Linked DNA regions of Homo sapiens: region 2 is linked to region 1. The links are contacts of gene promoters, found by promoter capture Hi-C in human tissues and cell types (Jung and others, 2019). All regions are on one chromosome and are shown on one strand. Each heading gives the region's core, a stretch centred on a gene start or on the middle of the fragment in contact. The rest is flanking DNA. Distances are from core to core; before and after follow the strand shown.

Region 1 (6,029 bases), core at 1,773-4,272:
TTCCTCTTTTATTACTTATCTTCTTGACCCTGCCTTGGCTGTTGGGCTCTAAGAGCATACAAATTCTACCACCTCCAGCTACCAATGCGAGCCAAGTTCTGAGCCTTGAGTGGGAATGTGGCACAACTGGGCACTGGGTAATTAAGTCCTGGGTCCAGGCCAAAGGAGGACCCAGCCTTATATGGAGTTCATAGGACAGAGGCACATGACTTTCTTAGGAGGCAGCCAAAGGCCTCTGGACTGATCAGGGCATCGGTGGCAGAGGAGCAGGGTGACAGGCCGCCTTTGGCTGGGCTTTATCTGGGCTGATGCTGAAGCTGTAGAGGCCCTGGAGCACACCATTCACCACCACGTTGGGCAGCGACTCTGTGGGATAGAATTAAACAGGTCTGGCCTCAGACCTGCAGCTCCTTGAGCTCCTGCTCATGGGCTCAGCCCCCACTTGGGAGTAGGAGCCCCTGCCAAGGCAGCAGACAGCAGCTGTCCACCCCAAATGAAGCCTCCGCATTCCCAGGTCACATTCTTTTCACATCAGCTTGGTAAAGAAGTCAGGCTGCTGAAGAAATGGAGACCAGGGAAGCCAAACTTGTTTTCCTTGTGTCTACAAAGCAGGCTCCAGGGGACAGGAGCAGGAGGTAGTGGCTCCAGAGGTGGGCAGCAGGAAGGAGATGCTGTCTGAGGGTCCCAGGAGCCGAGAAATGCAAAGCCCACAACCCAGCCCTGTAGCCCCATATCTAGGCACCTCCTCACCTGGGGAGGGGTTGCAAACATAGGGATCCACATGGAAGCTCAGGACAGGCCGCTGGTGCTGCTGGGAGCTGGGAGGAAACAGGGTCATGAACCATGGGTGCGGGAGGCAGGGCAGAATCCCACAGAGGGGTGGAGACGGGGTTGCCATCACCAGGGACCCATGAAGGAAAAGGTGAGTGGGAAATGGGCTCAGGAGGCACCAAAGGGAAAACAGACTTCAGGGCCCAGGCCAGACAGGCCCAGGCAGCAGGCCTGCCTCCTAGCATATGGCCACTAGGGGGCAGCAGGGGCCAAGCGCGGGCTAGGGCTTTGACTTGCCTGCTGTCGCCAGGCAGGAACTCCCTCAGGGTGCTGAAGAGAAGAGAAACACTGTAAGCTGCCTGGGGATGCCGGGGGAGCGTGAGGAAGGGGTGGAGACACCAGAGCCCAGAACTGCACCTCCCAGGGGACCACTGCTTCTATTTGTAACAAGCCCCAGTTCCGGAGGTGGCGGGGGTAACCAAGTCTGTCCAAAAAAAAGCCCCTCCACCCAGGTCAAGAGAGCTGGTGAGGGCGGTCATGCTGGATCCTGGCAGATGTGAAAAGAAAGGGCTTGCCCTCCAACACCTTTCCTCACCTGCTCACTGCTGACAGCCCCTGGCCCCCGCCATCGGCCCCCCTTACCCCCAGTTGCTAGCCTTGGGGTCTGTGGGGAAGTGCCGAAGTCTCAGGAATTCCAGTAACTCCTTGGGCACCTCCTGGTTCAGGTACAGGATGCCCTGGAGAGGACAGAGGAGACCTGCAATCAGACCCAGCTACTAATTTGCATAGCGCAGTGCCAGTGAAAATGCAGGGCTCTTTGTTCCAAAAAAAGAATTTCACGACAATGACAGCAGAGCGTTGAACCAGGCTCAGGGCCCTTCTGGGCGCTGGGCGCTGTGTGCACAGGTTGTACCCCATGACGCGGCATAGCTTTGCTGTTGGGGGAAGGACCCTCACCCTACATGCCATCAGGAGGGCAGCACAGGACCTCACCATGGAGGGGACAGGACCTGGGTTTCATGGAGCTGGGACTACCTGTGTCCGTTACCTCTTTCAGTCCTTTCAACAAGCCAGAGGGGGGTGTTTGGACCTATATTAGACTCAGAAAATTGATGCTTGAGGTGGTGAATAACATCCCCAAGTTGTGGGTTCCCTCCCTGCCATGCCCCCACACCTCTCTGTCTGGGCCACACCCCTGGCACAGAAGGCCGGGGGGCAACCAACTGTGCTCTCGCATACCTGGATGTAAGCCTCCAAGCCCTGCCGGCGCTGTTCCAACCCTCTGGTCCTCCAGTTGGGCAGGCGTTTCGAGGGGAAGTCGGGCACTTTGTACAGCTTCTTGATCTACTGGAGGTTTACCGCGTGCGATCACAGCATCCCGACTGAGCCCTCAAGCCCTCTTCGCCCCAGCCAGAAGCCCTCCCGCGCCCCCGCCTTCGGGCTCTACTGGGACAGACCCTGGTGAGTGGTGGACCGGCCGAGGGCGAGGAAGGCCCCAACCCACCCACAGAGGCCCGGGGGCTGACCGGCTGCGCAGGGACTGAGGCAGTAATGGGGGTGGCGGAGGCTGGGGCTCGCCCGCCCGCCTCACAGGGCCTGGGCGGGGGCTGGACAGAGGCTGGGCCGGGGCCGGTGGGAGGTCGGCGCCGCCTCACCCGCTTGTGCAGCGCGTGGAACTCGCTGTAGCGCCTTGGCACCGTGTGTCTGCGCCCGCTGCACAGCACCTCCACTCGGAACACCTGGCGGCGCGGGCGGGCAGCGGGTCTGCGCGTGAGGCCCCGCGGGAGGACGCCGCAGCACCTGCGCCTGGCGACGTGCCCACCCTCCCGCTCTCAAAGGCACAAAGCGGCCTTGCGGCGCCGCGGCTGCCCGGGGACTCTCCGCTCCCGCACACCTGGGAGAACCGGCTGGCGGACCTGCCCCTCGGAGCCCTGGGGTCCCTCAAGAGCTCGAACCATGGTCCGCGAGGCTGGCAAATCCAAGCGGCCCCCAAACCCTCGACAAGGTTTCCCCCGACGGTCCAGCCCGCAGCGCTCGTTCACCCAGGCCCGGGCCCCGGGTCCCCACTGAGCGCAGCGCGGGGAAATCCTGCGGGTCCCGGCGCCCCTCCCCATCCAGGGGCCGCGCTCACCATGTGGCTTTTCTCCGGGCTCTGCCTGGGCCCCTCGGCCTCGGGCCCCACCGACGGGATGTGAACTTCCAGCATCCGCGCCCCGGCCCCAGCTGCTCCGCGCGCTCGGCTCGGAGCCCTAACTCTCCCGGAGCGGACTGAGGACCCCGGGGCGGCCGGCTCCGCCCCCTCGGTCCGCAGGCCCCACCCCAGGCCCCGCCCCCAGGCGACCCCGCCCCGGGCGTTCCCTTGCGCCGCGGGTCCTGAGCCTAGAAGATTAGGCGGGACCTGGACGCCGCCCCCGAAGTCTAGTGCGCCCACAGCGCGGGGCAGTGGAGTCAACCGTTTGTCAAACATTGACGGAGCACTCACTGATGCCAGGAACTGGCGAGCGAAAATGTCACCCAACCTGAGTTAAGCGCCTACCAAGGACGGCCTGTGGCTCCAGGCGCGGACGGAGGCGGGGCCCGGGCCTCAGCGCCGGTCCTGGGGCCAACCAGGGACCTGTCTTGGGTTCCTCAGTCCCTTCCCGAGCCTTTCCCTCCTTTCAGCCTGGTCCCTGAAATTGTGATCTGGATTCCCCGGCTGAGGCCACACCTGAGCAAGGCTTGGACCCAGTCCAGCTTTGATGCCCCTTTCCCCAGCATCCACAGGCCCCCCCATTCATTCATTGTTTTCATCCATCCATTCACTCATATCTTCCAACCCTAAGGGGCTCCAGGCTGTTTGTGGGGAAGAGGCAGTTTAGGGACCTAGACTCCGATTTGGACGTCAGACTGCCTGGATTTCAGGAGCTCCGTAGACCTTTGCTCATCTGCAAAATAGGGATAACGTGGCTCCTTCAGGCAAGTGTATAAAGTGAGATGATTTGGCCGGGCGCGGTGGCTCACGCCTGTAATCCCAGCACTTTGGGAGGCCGAGGTAGGCGGATCACCTGAGGTCAGGAGTTCGAGACCAGCCTGACCAACATGGTGAAACCCCGTACCTACTAAAAATACAAAAATCAACCAGGTGTGGTGGCACATGCCTGTAATCCCAGCTACTCAGGAGGCTGAGGCGGGAGAATCACTTGAACCTGAGAGGCGGAGGTTGCAGTGAGCCGAGATCAAACCATTGCACTCCAGACTGGGCAACAGCAAGACTCTGTCTTAAAAAAAAAAAAAAGTGAGATGATTCATGTTAGGCCCTTAACAGAAGCATTGAGCAGCAGCTTGACTGTGGGCTTCTCCTGGATGACTAGGATAAGTGGGCACAGGGCAGTGGATGGGAAGAGAGACTTTGGGGGGTGGCACCGGGTTGCTCTTGTCCACCCCTCCGGGCAGGTTCTTCCTGGATATGTGGCAGGATTTTGATCCAGAACTCTCTCAGGCCATGTGCTGGAAAGGACCTCTGCTCCCACCTCTCAGCCCTGCACCCTTCAGCTGTCGGAGAGCTGCTATCAGCAGCACCATGGCAGGTCCTCTACTCCACTGACTTCCCCCACAAAGGCCCCGTGACATGCAGAGAGGCGAGGCCCTGCCTTCCAAAGCTCATACGTAGTGGGAGGTCTTGGGGTGGGCAGGAGGAAGCAGAGTGCCTGTCTTCGGGGCTGGGGTTGAGGGGACTCACCCCTCCCCTGCTTCTGCAGAGACGCCTCTGAGCTGGAGCAAAAAACCTCCATCCCCAGCCCTGCCCCCAGAGAAGGGCTGAGATGACGACCCCAAAATGGGGCAAACAGGTCTCACCAATATCATGTCCCACATTCTCTTTTTCCAAATTGCATCACACAAGGACCACAGAATCAGGAAGCTGAAACTTCCCAGATTCTAGTGGGGTCCCCTAGAAGAAAAGCAGCCCAGAGTGAGGAGAAGTGCTGTGCTTTCATTTCCTCCCTACGGCCCCATCATTCAGGGACCCAGCTTTCCCTGGCCTACAGGGCCTCCCCAACTCCCACTGTCCAGGGAGGCCTCTCCTGGGATCCTCAGACTTCTTGGTCCTCATCCTAATGACTGTCTGCCCCTCTGTCTGTGAGTCTCCATTTTTTCCTGCCTTCATCCCCAATAGAACGTCCATTCTCTACCCTGCAGCACAAACTGTTATCAAGGCATGTGCTTAAAACCTTCCAATGTTTCCCACTGCACTTAGAATAAAACCCACTCTCTCTATGCAATCCACAAAGCTGTAAACAACCCAGCCCAGCCTCCATCTTCCACCTCATTTCCTCTCCTCTCCCCATCATGCACTAGGCTCTTCCAACCTGACAAGCTCTTTCCTGCCTCAGGGCCTTTGCATTAGGCTGTTTGCTCCACCTGGGGGCACCCTTCCTTGACTCTTCAAGGATTGAGCTCATCCTCCAATTCTTAGCCTAAAACTCAACTCAAAAAGGTTTTTTTTTGTTTGTTTGTTTTTGTTTTTGTTTTTTTTTTTGAGACAGGGCCTCACTCCAGTCACCCAGGCTGGAGTGCAGTGACGCAACCACAGGGCTCACTGCAGCTTAGGTGATTTTCCCACCTCAGCCTCCTGAGTAACTGGGACTACAGGTGCGCACCACCACACCCAGCTAATTTTTGTATTTTTTGTAGAGACGGAGTTTGGCCATGTTGGCCAGGCTGGTCTCGAACTCCTGGGCTAAAGCTATGCACCCACCTTGACCTCCCAAAGTGCTGGGATAACAGGCGTGAGCCACCTCACCCAGCTGAGGCTTCCTTCTTGACCACCCTATCATATGACCTTTTCTATGCACATATTACAGTCTGCAATTATTGTTTGGTTACTGTGTGTCTCAAAAACATTTGGGTTGAAAGACTATATGGATAATATTTGTGATTGAAAGACTATATGAATGAATGGGCAGTGGGGGTATGCTGAGAAAAAACTAGGGAGGGGAAGGAGCAGCGTCTGCTGAAGGGTTAGAGGCTGCCTGCATGGTGGGACAACAAGAATCTTCTTCCTACCTCCAGAATTAAACACACTTCTCCTCTCTTCTCTCTTGGCAGATCATTGTCTACTTTTTCCATTTACTTAATTTTCAGGTGTTCCAGGAAGCCTCAGATCAGTGGATTTTCATCACCAGTTGTGGAAAGAGATTCCATGCAACTGACTTGTCAAACATGTGATAGGGAACCTGCAGCTCCTAATTGCACAGTGTTCCACCGCACAAGAGTGCAGG
Region 2 (6,029 bases), core at 1,442-3,941, 350 kb after region 1:
GATCAATATTTTTCTTTTTCTTTTTCTATTTTTTTTTTTTTAGAGGCAGAGTCTTGCTCTATCACCCAGGCTAGAGTGCAGTGGCACGATCATAGCTCACGGCAGCCTTGACCTCCTGGGCTCAAGTGATCCTCCCACCTTAGCCTCCTGAGTAGCTGGGACTACAAGTGCAAGCCACCATGCCTGGCTAATTTTTTAATTTTTGGAGAGACAGGGTTTTGCCATATTTCCCAGGCTGGTCTCAAACTCCTGGGCTCAACTGATCCTTCTACCTCAGCTTCCCAAAATGCTGTGATTACAGACGTGAGCCACTGTGCCTGGCCAATAGCTACTTTTTGTTAAAGCCTTAAGTATCAGAACTGAACTGAGGAAAGAGATAGGCAGAAGAGGGTGTCTCTGCTAAGCTACAGAGTTTATAATTTTGTTGAACAACTCCGTGTCATTGACTGATTTGAAGTTAACTTGTCTGAAAATTAAATGTGCAAGTATGACCTAGTTCTGAAACGTATCTTAAAAAGTAAGCCCAGAGATGACGCTTTAAAAAAGTCAACTTCTTTTTTAAAAAAGAAATTATTTGTGCCCTTTTTGCTTTGAGTTTGGAATTGGGACACCCCCAAACCTGATGGTAAAATATCTTATTTATAAATCCACTGAAGTAAGAAATAGTATGCAACCACTAAATGCTTAGGGCGTATAAAAAACTGACCTTAATATACCTATGAGTTACCATTTTGGTAGCCAAAAATATTTAAATGTAGAAACTAGTAGTAATTAATTAGTTAATTTAACAAACACTATGATGGTCTAGGTTGTATGGCAGAGAATTAAAATAAGGTGGAATCCATTCCTCACAGTGAGGAGTGAGTGCATTATCTGTTAGGGGAGTGACAATCCTAAATAATTGTAGGTCAAAGTGAGAGGTATCCTGTTAGAGAATTAGAAAGCACTAGTTTTCAAGTTCTGAAAAGCCCTGTAAGGTTTTTTTTTTTTTTTTGTAAAGTTTGAAGATATGAAGAGGAAGGACTTTAGTAAGTGAAGGAGAAGAGGATAGAAGCAGTGGTTTGAAGGCTTGGAATGACTTGGTGGTTTTAAGAACTTGTAAGATTTTCTTAAGTGTCTGTTACGTAGGTGGGAGAGGGTAGAAGAAAATTACCTGGAAAACACTTTAATTCCTGATTGTAAAGAGGCAGTTGTTGGTTAAAAGTAATTAGTCTTTAACTGGTTAAGCACTGAGTAGTCATTTGGGGTTTTCACTAAGGGAGTAACATCAGATTTTGGTTTGTAGAAAGATGGAGGATACACTAGAACTGGGGAGAACCTGCTATCAGGGAGCTGAATAAGGAAGCTACAGCAAGGAGAGAATTTTCAGTTAAATTTTATCCTAAAGCACTGATTCTGGGGTTGAAGGGAGAAGTAGCAGGTGGTAGTGTCACACTTCTCTAAAATAAGTGCTTTAGTGAGGTTGGGTGGGGCTGGGGACTTGGACATGTGTGTTTTGACAAGTTCTAACACTTGATTCTCATTCACATCCACTCAACATTTAGAGTTAATTTTTCCAGGGAGTGATATTATGGGGCAGTGAAAATAGCACTGGACTTCAGAATCTGGGGACTTATATTCACATCCTGACTCTGCCATTCACCTTGCATGTAATCTTGTTGTACTGTTTAATTTTTTGAAAATTGTTTTATGTTATTAATAACTATCTTACGGATTTTTGTGATAATTCAGTTGAAGTTCTGAAATCTCATAGGTATACAGTAAACATTTTGTAATCTCCTGACAGGTTTTCCCTGCCTGCTGCGCAGACAAAATCAATTAACAGAGACCACTACATTGCAGTAAAGGAAGAGTTTAATTGACAGGAGGCTGGCCATGCCATGCATGAGACAGAGTTATTATTCAAATTGATGTATTTCCCCAAAGGCTTGGAGTTTAGGGTTTTCAAGGATAGTTTGATGGGTGGGGGACTAGGGAATGGGGAATGTTGATTGGTCAGGGAAAAAAAAATGATTGGAGTGTGAAAAACAGTCCTGGTGTGATGAGTCTGCCTCTGCATAGGGCCACAGGATGTTAAGTCTTGAGGCAGGAGTCCAGGTGGGGTCATTCTGAAAGATAACACAAAAAAACCAATCTTAGATTCTATTATAATGATTTTCTCTATAAGAGTAATTGAGGAAGTGACAAATATTGTGACCCTTGGCCACATGACTCCTGAACAGTAAGGAATGATAGAAGAAGCTATACTTGTCTTGTGACCTCTAGCCATATGACTCCTGAGCAGTAAGGGATGATAGAAACTATGCCTACACCTTAGCAGAATTCAGGCCCCTCTCATAATCCTAACCTTGTGGCCTTTCATTAGTTTTATGAAGGTGGTTTAGTTTTGGGAAAGGTTATTATCATCCTTGCTTTAAGGTCAAACTATAAATTTCTCTGAAAATCAGCTTGGTCTTGTAAACTAAAAATAAAATTCTAAGCTCTCTAACCATCTGAATGGCCCCCTCCTCTCAGCAAGCATTCCAAAGTTAACCTGATAAACTAGTTCCGGCCATGATGGAAAGGGGGAGCCAGATATGCCTCATAATACCCTCCTCTCTTTTGGAATTACTGATAGAACAAGACTCTTTAAGTCTGATAAGAAACATTTACAATCTGTTCTCTGAAGCCTGTTACCTGGAGGCCTCATCTGCATGATAAAACCTTGGTCTCCATAACCCTTTATTGTAACACAGACATTTCTTTCTTTAGATAATAATTCTTTCAACCAATTGCCAATCTGAAAACCTTTCAATGTATCTATGACCTGAAAGCTTCTGCTTCAAGTTGTCCAGCCTTTCTGGACTGAATCAATGGACATTTTACAAGTATTGATTGATATCCCATGTCTCCCTAAAATGTATAAAATCAAGCTGTCCCTGACCACCTTGGGTACATGTCATCAGGACCTCCTGAGTCTGTATCACAGGCATGTCCTTAACCTTGGCAAAATAAACTTTCTAAATTGATTGAGACCTAACTCAGCTATTTTTGGTTTACAGTCTACACCCCGGAATGATCGATGATGGAGGTTAGAAGCGAAATGGACTTAACTGTGTCAAATTTCTCTTACTGTCATAATTTTGCAAAGATGGTTTCAGTTTTGTGAGTTTAAGTTTTAATTTAGAATTTACATTAGAAACTACTGAATTTAGTCACATTTCAGTAGTACCCTTATCCACATATTAAATGAAATAGAAACTTATTAAAAGTTGCAGAAGATGTAACTGTTGGAAAATATGTTGGCATATGGACTTAAGGGATGATACCCTTTAGTAGTGGACTAAATTTAGTTTAAAAAATATAATTAATTTATTCTACTTGTAAAAAATAAAGGTTCCTCTTCAAAGATTTTCCTCCCTATTTAACTAGGAATAAATAGTAACTTCTCTTAGAAGCAAAATTTATTTAAAGACCTGTGCTAACATTCTTAAAAATCTGCTAGCTGTGATAAAGAAATCAATGTACTTTATGTTCTTAGCTCCCACAATTTAGCCTAAATATTTGCCCTGGCATGCTTATACTGGTTCAAGCAAGCATTAGGTCGTAGCCTGTTCCTCTTCCTTATTTAAAGGTATTTTTACCTTTCTCAGCATTCCACAAGTTAACTTCCTGCTTCCTTGATTCTCCTCTGCCTTTGCCTCTTTTAAAAAGTTCTGAGTTGCTAGCCAGTCGGGACAAATACAGAATGTCAGGTCCCGTTCCAGCCAGTGGAAACTGGACACAGCAGTAGGGTGGACGCGTGAGATTATAAATGACCCTGTCTCTTTTGTTCGGTGTACTCTCGTGGCAGAACTGCTGGCGAGTATACCCTTTCTGCAGAAAGTATAAAAATGGCCTTGCTGAGTAAATTAAATTTATGTTCAAGTGCTATTTCTTTGTGGCACCAGGGAACAAGCATTTCAAACATACTGCTGGTTCAAATGGGCAAACATGAAATATCTTCAGAGTAATTCAAAATAGGAACCTTTTGTATCAGAGCTTTTCTATTTGATTGAAAATAAAATCAAGCCACTTAAAATTCCAATTAAATGTTAATTTTCTTATATTAAACTGATATTTTTTCCTCTCAATTTTATCTCTACTTCTGCAATCTTAGGTGCTATCAACATCTCTCATACACATTTCTGAAATCTGTTTTTATTGGTTATTTTATTTTAAAATTATCACTACTCTTTATCTACTTTGAACTTCTTTTTCCAAAATGATAAATGCAAGCAGAATATTTTAATAAAACCATTGAAAAAGGCAAGCTTTAGTAACTAAGACAATTGACCCAGTTTTTCCTTCCTCAGAATTTTAAGATCTTTAAAGCAGAAACTTGTGCTTTAAAACTGTATTGATACATTTAAAAATGATATAATTTGTATGTCATTTAAATGTTCAAGTAGGAAAAAGGATGATTATTCCTTTACTTTTTTTTTTTTTTTTTTTTTTGAGACAGAGTCTTGCTCTGTTGCCCGGGCTGGAATGCAGTGGCACAATCTTGGCTAACTGCAACCCCCGCCTCCCAGGTTCAAACAATTCTCCTGCCTCAGCAGCCTGAGTAGCTGGGACTACAGGTACACACCACCACGCCTGGCTAATTTTTGTATTTTTAGTAGAGATAGAATTTTGCCATTTTGGCTAGGATGGACTTGAACTCCTGACCTCAGGTGATCCGCCCACCTCGGCCTCCCAAAGTGCTGGGATTTTAGGTGTGAGCCACTGAACCCTTTACGTGTTTTTCTTAAACTGCTGGGTATGGGGAGTGGGAAAGTAGGGATCTTAGCTGTTCTAAGATGAAAGAGTGGCATCTCCTGCTAGAGTCCCAGTTGTAATGGGTGGTAGGTGAGATATTGTAAAATATATATTTGGTCTTCCTCATGTCTCCTGGAATATAACTCCTAAAATCTTTGGAATCTCCAAAGTGATCTGTGTCTTTTTGTGTGCTAATGAATTTGCTGATGCCTGGTCACCTCTGGTTAGCTTCAGGATTGGGGCTGGTCACTGGAAAGACTGAGCCATGATTAGAGGGTTAGTACTTTCAGCCCCATCCCCAACCTCTGGGAAGGGGAGGAAAGAAGGGCCAAAGATTGAGTTGATCACTCAGTGATTCAACCAGTAATAGCTAGTAATGAAGCTTCCATAGAACCACAAAAAGACTGGGTTCAGGTGTTACAGGAAAGGGGTTCTGATCCAGACCCCAGGAGAGGGTTCTTGGATCTCACGCAAGAAAGAATTCAGGGCGAGTCTATAGAGTAAAGTGAAAGCAAGTTTATTAAGAAAGTAAAGGAATGAAAGAATGGCTACTCCATAGACAGAACAGCCCCAAGGGCTGCTGGTTGCTCATTTTTATGGTTATATGTTGATGATATGCTAAACAAGGGGTGGATTATTCATGCCTCCCCTTTTTAGACCATATAGGGTGACTTCCTGACAGTGCCATGGGATTTGTAAACTGTCATGGCGCTGATGGGAGTGTAGCAGTGAGGACAACCAGAGGTCACTCTCATGGCCATCGCAGTTTTGGTGAGTTTTAGCCAGCTCCTTTACTGTAACCTGTTTTATTAGAAGGTCTTTATGACCTGTATTTTGTGCTGACCTCCTATCTCATCCTGTGGCTTAGAATGCCTTAACCGTCTGGGAATGCAGCCCAGTAGGTCTCAGCCTCATTTTACCCAGCTCCTACTCAAGGTGGAGTTGCTTTGGTTCACACATCTCTAACACAGGGAACTTCCAGATAGCTGAACCCATAGAGGTTCTGTACTGGAAAGGGGTCCCTATCCAGACCCCAAGAGAGGGTTCTTGGATCTTGCGCAAGAAAGAATTCAGGGCGAGTCCACAGAGTAAAGTGAAAGTGAGTTTATTAAGAAAGTAAAGGAATAAAGAATGTCTGCTCCATAGGCAGAGCAGCAGCAAGGGCTGCTCCACTAAGGATAGTTATAGTTATTTCTTGATTATATACTAAACAAGGGGTGAATTATTCATGAGTTTTCTGGGAGAGGGGT

Evidence for each region. Contacts are between HindIII fragments. The study calls those that stand out against the background at their distance.
Region 2: a fragment that was not itself captured here is called in contact with the fragment with the promoter of SNX22 in region 1 in 1 of the 25 tissues and cell types used here (lymphoblastoid cells).

Annotation. Positions count from the first base shown.
Region 1 is chr15:64,148,724-64,154,752 of GRCh38, reverse strand. SNX22 (sorting nexin 22) reads right to left here and starts at 3,022. Exons shown (of 7, transcript NM_024798.3): 1 at 2,903-3,022; 2 at 2,427-2,510; 3 at 2,011-2,115; 4 at 1,414-1,508; 5 at 1,069-1,101; 6 at 751-818; 7 at 1-366. The coding sequence starts at 2,977. The coding sequence ends at 245. RefSeq lists enhancers at 307-466, 477-596, 342-1,073, 1,097-1,326, 4,254-4,363 and silencers at 2,317-2,696, 2,897-3,336. The HindIII fragment of the contact is 9,247 bases long and covers 478-6,029 here.
Region 2 is chr15:63,793,513-63,799,541 of GRCh38, reverse strand. The region is part of intron 1 of HERC1 (HECT and RLD domain containing E3 ubiquitin protein ligase family member 1); the gene reads left to right. Among named protein-coding and RNA genes, the nearest start is that of HERC1, 37 kb to the left of the region's middle. The HindIII fragment of the contact is 4,073 bases long and covers 655-4,727 here.